2 separate regions of the Homo sapiens genome follow, and region 2 is linked to region 1. Evidence: promoter capture Hi-C in 16 types of primary human blood cells and fetal thymus (Javierre and others, 2016). All regions are on one chromosome and are shown on one strand. Each heading gives the region's core, a stretch centred on a gene start or on the middle of the fragment in contact. The rest is flanking DNA. Distances are from core to core; before and after follow the strand shown.

What was found. Contacts are between HindIII fragments. The CHiCAGO score rates a contact against its expected background, and 5 or more counts as called.
Region 2: a contact is called between a fragment that was not itself captured here and the fragment with the promoter of RBMX in region 1, in 7 of 17 cell types (fetal thymus, total B cells, naive CD8 T cells and 4 more). The highest score is 9.1, in fetal thymus.

What each region holds. Positions count from the first base shown.
Region 1 is chrX:136,878,147-136,884,655 of GRCh38, forward strand. RBMX (RNA binding motif protein X-linked) reads right to left here and starts at 2,579. Exons shown (of 9, transcript NM_002139.4): 1 at 2,451-2,579; 2 at 1,173-1,307; 3 at 871-977. The coding sequence starts at 1,281. It overlaps SNORD61 (small nucleolar RNA, C/D box 61), which reads right to left and starts at 1,125; the gene lies at 1,053-1,125. RefSeq lists enhancers at 1,504-2,103, 1,905-1,964, 1,975-2,434, 2,104-2,702. The HindIII fragment of the contact is 13,799 bases long and covers 1-6,509 here.
Region 2 is chrX:136,777,726-136,784,205 of GRCh38, forward strand. It overlaps ARHGEF6 (Rac/Cdc42 guanine nucleotide exchange factor 6), which reads right to left and starts at 3,207. Exons shown (of 22, transcript NM_004840.3): 1 at 2,993-3,207; 2 at 1,689-1,772. The coding sequence starts at 3,157. RefSeq lists an enhancer at 1,643-1,862. The HindIII fragment of the contact is 384 bases long and covers 2,338-2,721 here.

The DNA of each region.
Region 1 (6,509 bases), core at 1,329-3,828:
TGCACTAAGACACTAACTGGTCCTTCAAAATGCAGTTATGGGTAAGTGTTGCTCATTAGTCTAAGAAAAAACACTGCAAATATAGTCAGTTTACATAAATGGGGCTTTTCCGCTTAAAATTCTTAATACTTAAAACCGATACTGATGATCTGGATTGAAACATAAGGTGAACCCACTGCATTATTGTATGGTAAAATTTAAAACAAGGCCAAGTAGGTATCAGCTTGTTATCAAAACTAGTAGCCAAAACCAAAAGCCAAGTTATCAAAATATGGCTTATGGATCTCAAGATAAAATGTATCATGTTGGCTGGGCGCAGTGGCTCGCAGTGTCTCACACCTGTAATCCCAGTACTTTGGGAGGCGGAGGCAGCTGGATCACCTGAAGTCAGGAGTTTGAGACCAGCCTGGCCAACATGGTGAAACCCTGTCTCTACTAAAAATACAAAGTTAGCCGGGCGTGGTCGCGCATGCCTGTAATCCCAGCTACTGGGGGGGGGGGGGGGGGCTGAGGCAGAAAAATCGCTTAGAACTCGGGAGACAGGCTGCAGTGGGCACTGCACCATTGCACTCCAGGCTAGGCAACGGAGGGAGACTATCAAAAAAAAAAAAAAAAAAGTACCATGTAATGCCATAATTATTCTGAACTGAGAGAATGTTACGAGCATAAGATATAACTCACTACTAGATTTGGTTCTGCAATTACAGAATACTCTTTGGAACAGGATCACAAACAGGATGAGTGGATCCCAGACAGGTATATACTGAAAAACAACGAAAACTCAAAAGCTGTCCTAGACCAGACTTGGACAACTACATGTTATTTTATGCACTAGTAACAGGTTATCATCCATCGTGTAGACAATCTCACCTTTCCATTCATGTCTCTGGCTGCATCCTTAGCGTCTGCTGGGCTTTCAAAGGTGACAAAAGCAAATCCTCTTGATTTGTTGGTTTCACGGTCTTTCATCAAGAGTACTAAAAAGTAGTTTTCAGAAAAATAAAGTGTTACCCTAGGTCAAATGAAATAACCAAAGTAAATGTGTAAACAGAAAGCTCAGAACTTCTTAGAGGACAAAAATACATTATCATGTCAGACGATCAATGCAATCAAATTCATCATAGCTTATATTTTAATTATAATAGCCCAGCCTGTACTGCCAGACAACTCACCTTCCACTATTCGTCCATATTTGCCAAATACTGCTTCAAGAGCTTTCTCATTTGTTTCCGTATTAAGCCCACCAATGAAGAGCTTTCCTGGGCGATCTGCTTCAACCATGTTTTTTTTTTTTTGGGCCGGTGAGTCTGTTGAAAAGGAATAGTATTACCTCACTGCAAAAAGTTCCTCAAGTTTATTGGACACTTTTACTTTCGCACATTTCTCATATTTTCCACTAAAACCATTGTTCCTTAATAACTAAAGAAAACGATAACGAGCTAAGCCTCAGCCACAGTAGGAAGCAATTTGAACTAAGTAGTTTAGTAACACTGCAATTTACATAAAACTGGTTAAAAGGGCCAACTTAACTTTTACCACTACCCTTGATCACCCTTAGCTGTTCTTAAGCAACAGCTGCTTAACATTTGAAAAAGCAACTTTTAGTTCCAGTCCTCTTGCCTTTGAAAGATTCAATTACTCATCACACCCTTCCTAACGATGGTTTTAAAAGACTCCCAAGGTCACAGGCTAGACACAGGACCTTAACACCAAGCCCTCTTCCAACGACTCCTCTTTTCCTCATTAGGATTCCCTACTAAATCCAAGGAGAAATGTGAAGTTTAAGCCAAGTTATGCCGCCCCTCTTCTTCACCGGCCCCCGCCCTACCGAAAATTCTACTATCCGGCCAAAAAGATAAAAACAAATCGTCAACATCGTTTGCTATTAAGTAACGGAACGCGGACGCACACACTAACACTCGACACTCCGTGACTGCAGCGGAACCTAATTAAAACTCGTCATTAAAAACCGCGTGTAAAAGACAAAATGGCGACACTTGGATTCAACCCAGAACCACCGACACTGGTCAGGGGACTAACTTTTACCACCAACATTGGCTGGGAACATTCAGAGGGCTTCTTCTCCGGGGCCGCCAATGAATACGAAGCCCGCAGCCCGCATGGAAGTCCACATGCCCATCATTAGCGCCAGCGCCATACCAATGCAGGTATCGCCGTGGTGCGGTCGCTCCTCGCCCCGCTCCAGCCTACAAAGCCCCGACCTCCGCTACCAACTCCCGCAGATGGCAGCCAAACTTTCTCGAGAAGCATACAACCAAACGGGCCCCCTCATTTGTTTTCCCTCGACCCCCTCAGCTTTATTTAAATAGGTCGGAACCTTTGGGTTCTTAAAATGGCGCCCGCCACCCCCATCTCCAGGGAGATATAATCCCCAGTCCTAACACGGGGAGAGTGTCACGAAAAACGGACTGAGGAAAGGAGACACGTACCGGAGGGGTGACAATGGGTTCAAGCTCCAACGAGCTCGGCGATAGGGGCTTCCTAGCAGCTCAGCACCAGTGGCGGCTGCCGGGTGCGAGGACCGAACCGCGAAGCCGCTAGCACTACTGCGCAACGAGGGCGAACAAAGGAGACAGCAAACTTTATACTGCCCGGGAACGAGGCTGAAGGACCCGGATGGAAACGGAGCTTAGAATTTGAAACGCAAAGGGAGGGGGGAAGTAGTTCCCAGTCTCCCCATTGGCTGGCTCCTCTGTCATTCACCCTTCTCTCCTCCCTTTTTCCCGGGCCCTCGGTGTTGGGTCGACAGACCTTTCTAACCGTTTTCTCTACCCCCACCCGTTCTTTACAAACGCGCTTTTTTTGCTTTACGCTAAAATGGTGCACAGGCTTCCTTTAATAAAGAACTGAAGTTTATTGAGCGTCCTAGTGGGCCGGGCACGGTGCAAAACTTTACTTTTACTTTTCCATTAACTCTTCTAATTGTCAAAATGTGATGAGGGTAGATACTCCTACTATACCAATTTTGCAGAAACGGAAAACAAAGAAGTTTTGGCAATATAATATATTTTCAAAAATTGTCTTTAACAAGTGTTTTTAGTGAGTGTGGGAATTTCTGATAAATACATGTAAATTTCAGATGAGTAAAAAACGTACAAAACAGCATGCAGATAGTACATTCATATAGAACAATTACTGAGCACCTTGTAAATGGTGGGCTCTGGGCTAGGCCAGGAAAATACAACTCCAGGGAAAAGACAAGAGTCAGGCCTGTGGGTAAGGATGCCGGATTTAATAAATGAAAATACCAGGCCGGGTGCAGTGGCTCACGCCTGTAATCCCAGCACTTTGGGAGGCCAAGGTCGGTGGATCACGAAGTCAGGAGATGGAGACCATCCTGGCTAACACGGTGAAACCCCGTCTCTTTTTAAAAATACAAAAAATTACCCAGGCGTGGTGGCACGCGCCTGTAGTCCCAGCTACTCGGGAGGCTGAGGCAGGAGAATCCGGGAGGCGGAGGTTGCAGTGAGCCAAGACTGCGCCACCGCACTCCAGCCTGGGCAGGCGACAGAGCGAGACTCCGTCTCAAAATAAAAAAGAAAATGCGGGACGCTAATTTATTCTGCGAAGCTGTTAAAAAATTTTAAATAAAAATATGGGACGCGGCCGGGGCGCGGTGGCTCATGCCTGTAATCCTAGCACTTTGGGAGGCCGAGGCGGGCAGATTGCCTGAGCTCAGGGGTTTGAGACCAGCCTGGGCAACATGGTGAAACCCCGTCTCTACTAAAATAAAAATAAAAAATAAAAAAATTAGCCGGGCGTGGCGGCGTGTGCCTGTAGTCCCAGCTACTCGGGAGGCTGAGGCAGGAGAATTGCTTGAACCCAGGAGGCGGCGGTTGCAGTGAGCCAAGATCATACCACTGCACTCCAGCCTGGCAACAGAGCGAGACTTCGTCTAAAAAAAAAAAAAGGGACGCCCAGTTAAGTTTAAATTTCAGATAACGAATACTTTTTTTAGTATAGTATGTCCCAAATCTCATATTTTAAAAATTCGCTGTTTATCGGAAATTCAAATTTAACTGAGCATTCTATATTTCATCTGCCCATCCTACTTGTTGAGGGGGGAAACCAAAAAATTTTTTAATTTTTTTCTTAAAGAAATTGAATACAATTAACAAAAGAATGGCATGTTGTGATTAATGCCAGGGAGGAAATAAACTAGTTGCTTTGATGGACAATATTAGGGAGAACAAATTTGATTAAAACATCAGGGAAGGTCTATGTGAAGAGGTGACTTTGGAGATCAGAGCTGAAGGAAGAAAAGAAACTAGCTATGGGAACAGCTGAGGGAAAAACCTTCAGGAAAAGAAGAGAATAGTAAACACAAAGTAGAGAGGAAGAGCTTGGCATATATCAAGGGACAGAAAGAGGGCCAGGTGACAAGAATATGAGGGGCATGAAATGAGGGAGCCAAGATTGGCAGGACCTTTGAGCCCATTAAATGACTGTAGGGGGTAAGTGTGGGAAAAAGGACACTAATAGGGCTGTGGGAGCAGACCAGAAAGAGAGGATGGTGGCTTGAATCAGGGTGGCGGCAGTGGACACGGGGAGGAAAGAACAATTGTTAGATGAATATGATAGGTATCGTGTTTAATGGTGCTATGGTCTAAATGTTTGTGTCCTCCCCCAAATTCATATGTTGAAATCCTAATACCCAAGGTGATGGCATTAGGAGGCGGGGATTTGGGGAGAAGATTAGGTCACAAAAGGGTAGGGTCCTCATGAATGGGATTAACACTTTTATAAAAGAGGCCCCTGTCCACCATGTGAGAACACAGTGAGGTGCCACTTATATGAACCAGAAAACTGGTGGTGGTGGGCCCTCACCAGACACTGAATATGCTGGCGTCTTTATCTTGGACTTCCCAGCCTACAAAAATGTGAGAAATAAATTTCTGTTGTTTATAAGCCAGCCAGTTTATGGTATTTTGTTATAGTAGCAGGAATGGACTAAGACAGATGGGAAAGGGGTGGGGAAGAATTGCGGAAAAAGAAAATCATTATGGATGACTCCAAGTATCTGGTATTAGTGGGACAGATGGTAACAGTCATTTACCAAAATGGTTTCAGAGGAGCAAGTTTGGGATATAGGGGCAGAAAAATCTGAAGCTCAGAGCATAGATCTGTGCTAAATTATCATCTCAGAGATGTAATAAAAGCCATCAGAATGAATGAAACCACCAAACAAGAGAGTACAGTGGGAAAAGAAGGCCCAAGATCACATAATATGAGCTATTAAAAAAATACATATGGAGACAAAATAACTGGGAGGAAATATGCCAAAATGTTACCAGTTTATCTTGGAGTGGTAGAATTTATGGACAATTTTCACTTTTCTTCTTCTTCTTCTCCTTTTTTTTTTGTTTGTTTTTTTGTTTTTTTGAGAAAGAGGTTCGCTCTCATTGCCCAGGCTAGAGTGCACTGGTGCGATCTTGGGTCACTGCAACCTCTGCCTCCCGGGTTCAAGCGATTCTCCCGTCTCCGCCTCCTGAGTAGCTGGGATTACAGGCATACGCCACCATGCCCGGCTAATTTTGTATTTTTAGTAGAGACAGAGTTTCACCATGTTGGCCAGGCTGGTCTCAAACTCCTGACCTCAGGTGATACGCCCGCCTCGCCCTCCCAAAGTGCTGAGATTACAGGCCTGAGCCACCGTGCCGGGCCTTTTCTTCTTCATAGTTACAATTACCTGCCCATGGTGAATTTTGGTATATGCCAGGCAGGTTGTAGTAAATAATATTCAGGTCACGGGTAAAAGCCCCCAAGGAGCTTCGAAACCAGCTCTGAATTATTAACATTAATAGGGGGAGTAATGCCCAGTAGGACAAGAATATTTGTTCTTGTTTTTTTTCCCCCAGCCAAATAATAAAAAGTAAGGCAAAACTCATGTCCATTTGCCTTTTGAATGAGTTCTGTAAATTATAGACTCTGGAGTCATTTGGGAACTGGCAAAAATGGCTTAAATACCAGGCTCAGCAAGCAGAACTTGTACTCCCAGAGGTAGCCAGGAGAAATCCCTCACCCTGTGGAAGCAGGCACTCTCTTTCTCTGTCTCAAATCCAAAGAGAGACTACAGGACTCTCCTCTAGGCTCTGAGTGTAAATCAGGTCTCCTCTAGTCTAGGGCAAAATGGGGCAGGCTCGACAATAGATAACCCTGTCCTCCTGGGTCTCAAAAAGGAAATGTGCATCCCCGTAGACCAGCTCACTTTGGCCTCTGCAGTTCACACCCAGGAATGTGGGGGAGGAGAAGTAGCATGCTGGCGGTGTTGGATGCAAACACAATTCCCAAGGACCAAAAGCGAGTGGGTGGGGTGGGGATGGCTAAGTTAAAGGAATTGTAGGAGGGGATCAGTTGGCCATATCGTCCAGGACAGAGAGGAAAAAGAAGCAGCTTGTGGGGGAAGCAGAGTGCTACTGACTAGATCTAGAGGGCAATGGAGAGGGGAGCCTTTTTTTTTTTTTTGAGACGGTGTTTCGCTCTTTCGA
Region 2 (6,480 bases), core at 1,280-3,779, 100 kb before region 1:
GAAAATGTAATATACATATATATAATATGTATACATACACACACACACACACACACACACACCATGGAATACTACTCAGCCATAAGAAGGAACAAAATAATGGCATTCACGACAACCTGGGTGGAGGTGGAGACCATTATTCTAAGGGAAGTAACTCAGGAATGGAAAACCAAACATCATATGTTCTCACTTATAAGGGGGAGCTAAGCTATGAGGATGCAAAGGCATAGGAATGATGTAATGGGCTCTGGGGACTCAGGGGGAAGGGTGGGAGTAGGGTGAGGGATAAAAGACTCTACATTGGGTACAGTGTACACTGCTCAAGTGATGGATGCACCAAAATCTCAGAAATCACCACTGAATAACTTATCCATGTAACCAAACACCACCTACCTGTTCCTCCCAAACTATTGAAATAATATTTTTTAAAAAGGTCACACGAGTCCTATGAATTCGGTGCCACTATTATTCCCATTTTGTAGGTAGGAAGACTGAGGCCTAGAGTCATAGTTAAGTAACATGCCCAAGGTCACAAAGCTGCTAGTAAGAGAGAACTGAGATTTGAACCCAAAAAGTTTAGCACCACAGTCCATGCTTAAACCACAACTATTTGTCCACGGATAATATGACTAATACTAGTCTATTAATATAGAGTACTTCTTCTGTCCCAGGCCCTATGCTAAGGACTCTACATAAATTATCTCATAGATCTTACAAGGTTGGAGCTCTTGGCCCTAAATTATTATGCAGTATCTTATTTGATTCTTTTTTTTTTTTTCGAGACAAGGTCTCTTTCTGTCATTCAGGCTGGAGTGCAGTGGTGCAATCACAGCTCACTGCAACCTCCACCACCTCTTGGGTTCAAGCGATCCTCCCACCTCAGCCTCCCGAGTAGCTGGGACTACAGGCACAAGCCACCACGCCTGCCTAATTTTTGTATTTTTTGTAGAGTCACCATTTCACCATACTGTCCAGGCTGGTCTCGAACTCCTGGGCTATAGCAATCCTTCTGCCTTGGCCTAGGATTAAAGGCATGAGCCATCATGCCCGGCCTTATTTGATTCTTAAAGCAATCCCATGAGTTGGCTATTAGCATGTCCGTTTTACAGATAAAAATACTGAAGCACAGAGAAGTTAAGCAACTTGATGCTCGTGTGGAAGTATCACCTCCCTTTCAGTAACACTTCCTATACACACTGTAGGGATCCATATAATATAAAATAATGCCACAAAATTTACTATACAATTTCTACCTCAAAGCCAAGTTCTCTCAGCTTTTCAAGGCCTCTGTTCTAAAGTGTTAATGGGAAGGAGTAACAATGGCCTTTCCTCTTTTCTCAACTTGGGAGGATTACAGTGACCCTCTCCAACAGTCAGTGGCCCACTTTTGGTTCCCCTTAGTAGGAGAACACACCCACACAAGCTCTGTCACTGGAAGCCTGTTTACAGGGCTTGGATGCTGTATATAAAAGGCATTATTGTGTGAGTTTTTATTTTGTTTTGTTTTGCTTGGAACTGGTTTCTGGAAAAGACAGACTAGCAATCCATTACTGGGGACCACCAGTCTGCTACCTCTGTTTAACTCAGTGGCCAATGACAGTGAAAATAAACAAGTACTCTTACTACCAATCTTGATTAGCAGAGCAAAAAAACGATGACAACAGGGAAGGCACCCGGGGTAGGCTTACTTCCACTTGGAGGGTTGCACATCCTTTCAGGAAGTCATTGATGTTGTTGATGCAGTCAGCTTCAGTTTGGGGATCCAGACAAAACTAGAGGAACACAGTGAAATGTCACTTGGAGATTGTCATCCCATGCCAAGCAAAGTATACTCATCATTTGCTGATAACTAGAGAAAGCAGGCCTCTTAAGGTGTGGGGCAACACTGCTGTCAATCCAGGAAGAGAAATAACCACTGAAGGAAGTGATGCAAAAATCTAAACGGTCGATCTTTGTTTCAAATGTCACCAAACCTTTAGTGGCAAGCCATGTCTACTTACAAGCTTTCTCTCATGCCTTCTGTTCCAGTGTGCTGATGGCAAATTAGGGAGACCAAGACAGTTTTTTGAGCTTAGTTCTTGCTTTCAAGAAAGGAAGCAATCCCTGGTACCTCTCTCTCCTCCTTCCCCCTGATAATTTAATAAAATTCTATTTCCCCTCTACATTTGACCACACTTCTTTACATTTTATCACTATTTAATCACTCTTTCTCAAGTTTAAGAAATTATAAGTAAATTTATTTGCTCAATAAAAATACAAACTGGCTCATGAAGGCAAAAGTGCTATGCTCACAGTCCATGATGACCTTAAGAAAGTAAATGTAAAATTGTACCTTTAAGCTTACTTAAAGTGCCTACTTTAGAAATTATCTATTCTCGTGATCGTGGATTTCCAGCTATTAAAAATCTTGAATTGTTTTAAAGAGAGTAAAGTTAGTTTCACTTTGAACGCACATTGCATTCGAAACATATATCTGGTTTCTATTGCTTTTACAAACTTTATGTGACATTTTGAATTATTTTTTTCCTAGTTGCTATATAGTCTCTCCTTCAATGGATTTTTCTAAAAGGAAATCTACACTGATTTTAATCAAACTGCCAATAAACACCACCAAGATCTGTTATAAATCATTCTATTTTTCCACAGACTCATAAGTACCCCAAGTTCAAAACATGTCCTCGGTACACAAGGAGATGTAACATGCATCTCCATGATAGAGCAAGCTTGTGATATGAGTGTTCTCCTTGTCCCTTGTTGCCAGTGGTGTCACAGGTTTTCCCTATACTACAATTTGGGGGCCAATTACTAAAGAATAACGTTTCATTTTCTTACATTTTCAAACTACAAAAACAGTAAGAAAGAATGTCTAACTCTTAGAAAAATATTAAAGTAGGAGATTCCCATGGCCTGGGAAATAGAAAAATCTCAAGAGTTACATGATTGCTGCTCTCTGGTGATAAGCAATCCCAAAGAGACTGCAAATTTCCCTTACCTTTTCCACAGAGCCAGGCATGAGTCTGTTGATCAGTTTGCACAGAACTACCCCATTTTTCAGCGAGGACTTTAAAAACTCCTCCGGATCACAGATGGTCTTTTTAGGGGACTCTAAAACTCCCAAAGATATAAGCCATGTCACGATTTGTTCTTCTGGATTCATTACTGAGGACGGTACACTCCAAACAGCACTCTGGGGCAGCTGCAAGGACTAAGCCACATCCGCGATTGCATCTGCTGTTGTCTTCCTTTTTATGAGTTCTCTTCGGGTGCTTGCAGAGCAAAGGTTTAAAGCAACTTTTCTTAAACAACAGCGGAACCCACTCAAAATATGGGATTTTAAAACCACAGAGATCACGGTCCAAGATGTGGAAACAGATAAGAATTAATTTAACAATCCTGGATAACGCTGGTTTTTCCTTTTCAAAACCTGCAAAACAAATTCGTTAGGATAAAAAAAAAGAAGAAACGCACATGCACACACGCATACACACACACGCACACAGAGTGCAAGAAGTTATAAGGGAAGAAAGTGAAAAGGATGCTGGGGAGGGAGGAGAGACAAGCAAGCAAGTGCTTTGGGAAACAGAGGTGAGCCAGCACTTCAGGGGACCTTGGAAATGAGACACTCATGGGCCAGTCTGGGAAAACACTGTCAATAAATAGTCTAGCCCCAGTGAAAATCTGGCTTCTGTTAGGAGGACGATGCCAACTGGCTCTTAGGTCAGACAGATCTGAGCCTCATGGGGAGATGTGCTGGCACAACAGGGCTCAAAGAAGGTAGACAGAAAATTCTTCCAAGAAATAGCCGGATGTCCTCATAGTATCTCCCAGAGATGGTGTGTCACGATCATTCCTTGCAAAACACGTTGAGTTGCATGGTGACAACGTGCCAAGCAAACGAAGATTATGCCTGCTGTCAGCCATCACTGTGTATAAGCAGAAGCTAGAAGAATGGCATTTTACTTTGCAGCCAAAAAGCTATGTTTAGGGAAATAGGCTAAGGATAACATCTGACATCCTGTTTACTTGCATTCTTTAGCAATTCTTTTTCTGGACCTGGTTCCACTACATAATCCAGCTGCAGTACCCTTAGCAAAGGCTCAGACTCAGTCACATAAGTGGGTAAAATACACTTGAAAAAATAGAATGTTTGAGAACAAAAGAGCACTTGTCCTCTGTCTACACTACAATATGGAAGATTCTTATTTTCCCAACAACAACAACAACAAAAAAACACTTTGCACTTAAAATACTGCTCTGAAAAAAAAACTGTCTATAACAAGAGATCTTCATCATTCTCAAACATTTTCAGAACCACTTGAAATAGGCATACTATTGGGAAATTTATGATAAGGCCAACTTTAATAGTATAACCCTATGTTGGCAAATGTGTGGCACTTACCATGATTACCTCTCCTCGTGCATGGGAGACATCAGATCATGTATAGCTCTTTCCTACTAAGCCTCAGAATTCTTTTCAACACAGCTTCAGGCATCTACTACCAAAGAATCAGCTTAGATAACCCTACTAAACATTTTCAAAGCTGCCCTTTCTTGCTCTGTCAGGACACTTGTCACACTTTACTATTATCACTTGTTGATCTGATGATCTGACTCCTCCACAAGAATGTAAACTTCCTAAACTCGGGGTCTTGTTTTTTTTTATTTAACACTGTGTTACCAGCAGACTGCCAGGTATACACAGTAGATGTTAAAAAATGCTGAATGAATAAATGAATGTATTCAGATGGTGTCCCTGATATAGACAGTAACTGATTATAGCAAGGATTTTTTGTTTGTTGGTTGGTTTAAATGGCTTAAAACAAACATTTTTTCTTGTTAATGATTTTTACCATTTTATTAAGCTGTAATTGACACATAAGGAACTGCATATATATGATTTAATGAATTTTGACATATACATACATCTTTGATACAATCACACAAATGCAATCCAGATAAGCCTTTCCATCACCCCCAAAATTGTCCTCGTGCCCTTTCAATTCTTTCTTTCCTCTTTGCCTCCAAATGCCAGGCAACCACCAATCTATTTTCAGTGTCTATAGATTAGTTTGCATTTTCAAGAATCTTATATAAATGGAAGTACACAGTATGGTACTATCTTTTTTCTGGCTTCTTAACTCAACATCATCATTTTCATACTCATTCATGTTATTGTGTCTGTCCATAGTTCTATAACAAGGTTTGCTTGATGTACTTGTGACTTAAGCAAAATAAGTATAATCAATCAAAAGTTTTCATTGACGTTGACCCATGGCCAAATCTATGTAATGGAAATAAAAACAGAATACATTTGTTGATAAATAAAATTCCCAAATCTGACGAACTTAAACACATTTTTATATGTCATCTGAACAGTTTTCACAACTGCTCATCAAAATTTTACTCTACAGACAAACAAAATCTGGCAGTATTATTGAGGTATCACTTACATCTTCTGATGAAGAACAAAGCCTGAGTAAGTTTTGTGAACCCAGCCTCCTCCAAAACAGTCTTGAGTTCACCAAGGTCATCTGGATAAAACTCTGCCTCATTTTGGACACTCACTATAGCAAATATTACTATGAGTAATAAAGTATATCAGAATGGCAAGGCCACTGCCTCAAGGCAAAAGAACCAGTTCTATTTGTATAAAGATTGGAAGTTACAGTTGGTGTGGTAAAATGTCAACAAAGCAAGGAATTCCAGGGCAGTGGCAAGCATATAGGTGAAATGGGTACCCATGAAACCCAGGCTGGTTAGGGACTCAAATGAAGCTAGAAAGGAGCTGATGAACTGAGGGAATAGGGGAAGAGGGGGAATTCAAAGACTGGGGGTCACAGCAACACAAAGAGCAGGCTTCACACAAGAGCATGAGAAAAAAAAGCAAAGATCTCTCACCCTACCTCAGATCCTCAGTACCACACCCTCTGGGCCACTGAACCTGCCTCTTCAAGGGCTTTCCACCTCCATCCTCTCATCCTAATGAACTCTCTAACAGGGCACATTTGGGTTGATTTTCCAAAAACACCTCTAGTGTTAATACCCCTGTTCAAAAACCCTCAAAGGCTCTCTATTGCCTAAAGCAGGAATTGACAAAAAACAATGTTCATATGATCATCTCCTGTGAGGCATAAAGGAGAAAGGAAGGTGAGAGTGGAACTTAAGCTAAAATAGGTAACATTTCATGAAAAATCAAAAGATCTTCAGGAAATAAGGCAAATGTGAACATTTGTTAAGACTGAATGCTGGGTACACTGGTACCTGTTTTACTATTTAGTTTTGTGTGTTTAAAATGTTACTAACCGATTCTCTTTCATTTCAAATCTACTAAGGCACTTACTAAAAAAGAATATTTGGGAGCTCTCTTCCCAGATACTCCAGTTCAGAAGATCTGCAGTGGGAAAAAGGAATTTGTGTTATCAAAGTATCCCACTTGATTCTGATGCAGATAGACCAAGGTCACACTTAGAGAAATGAGTT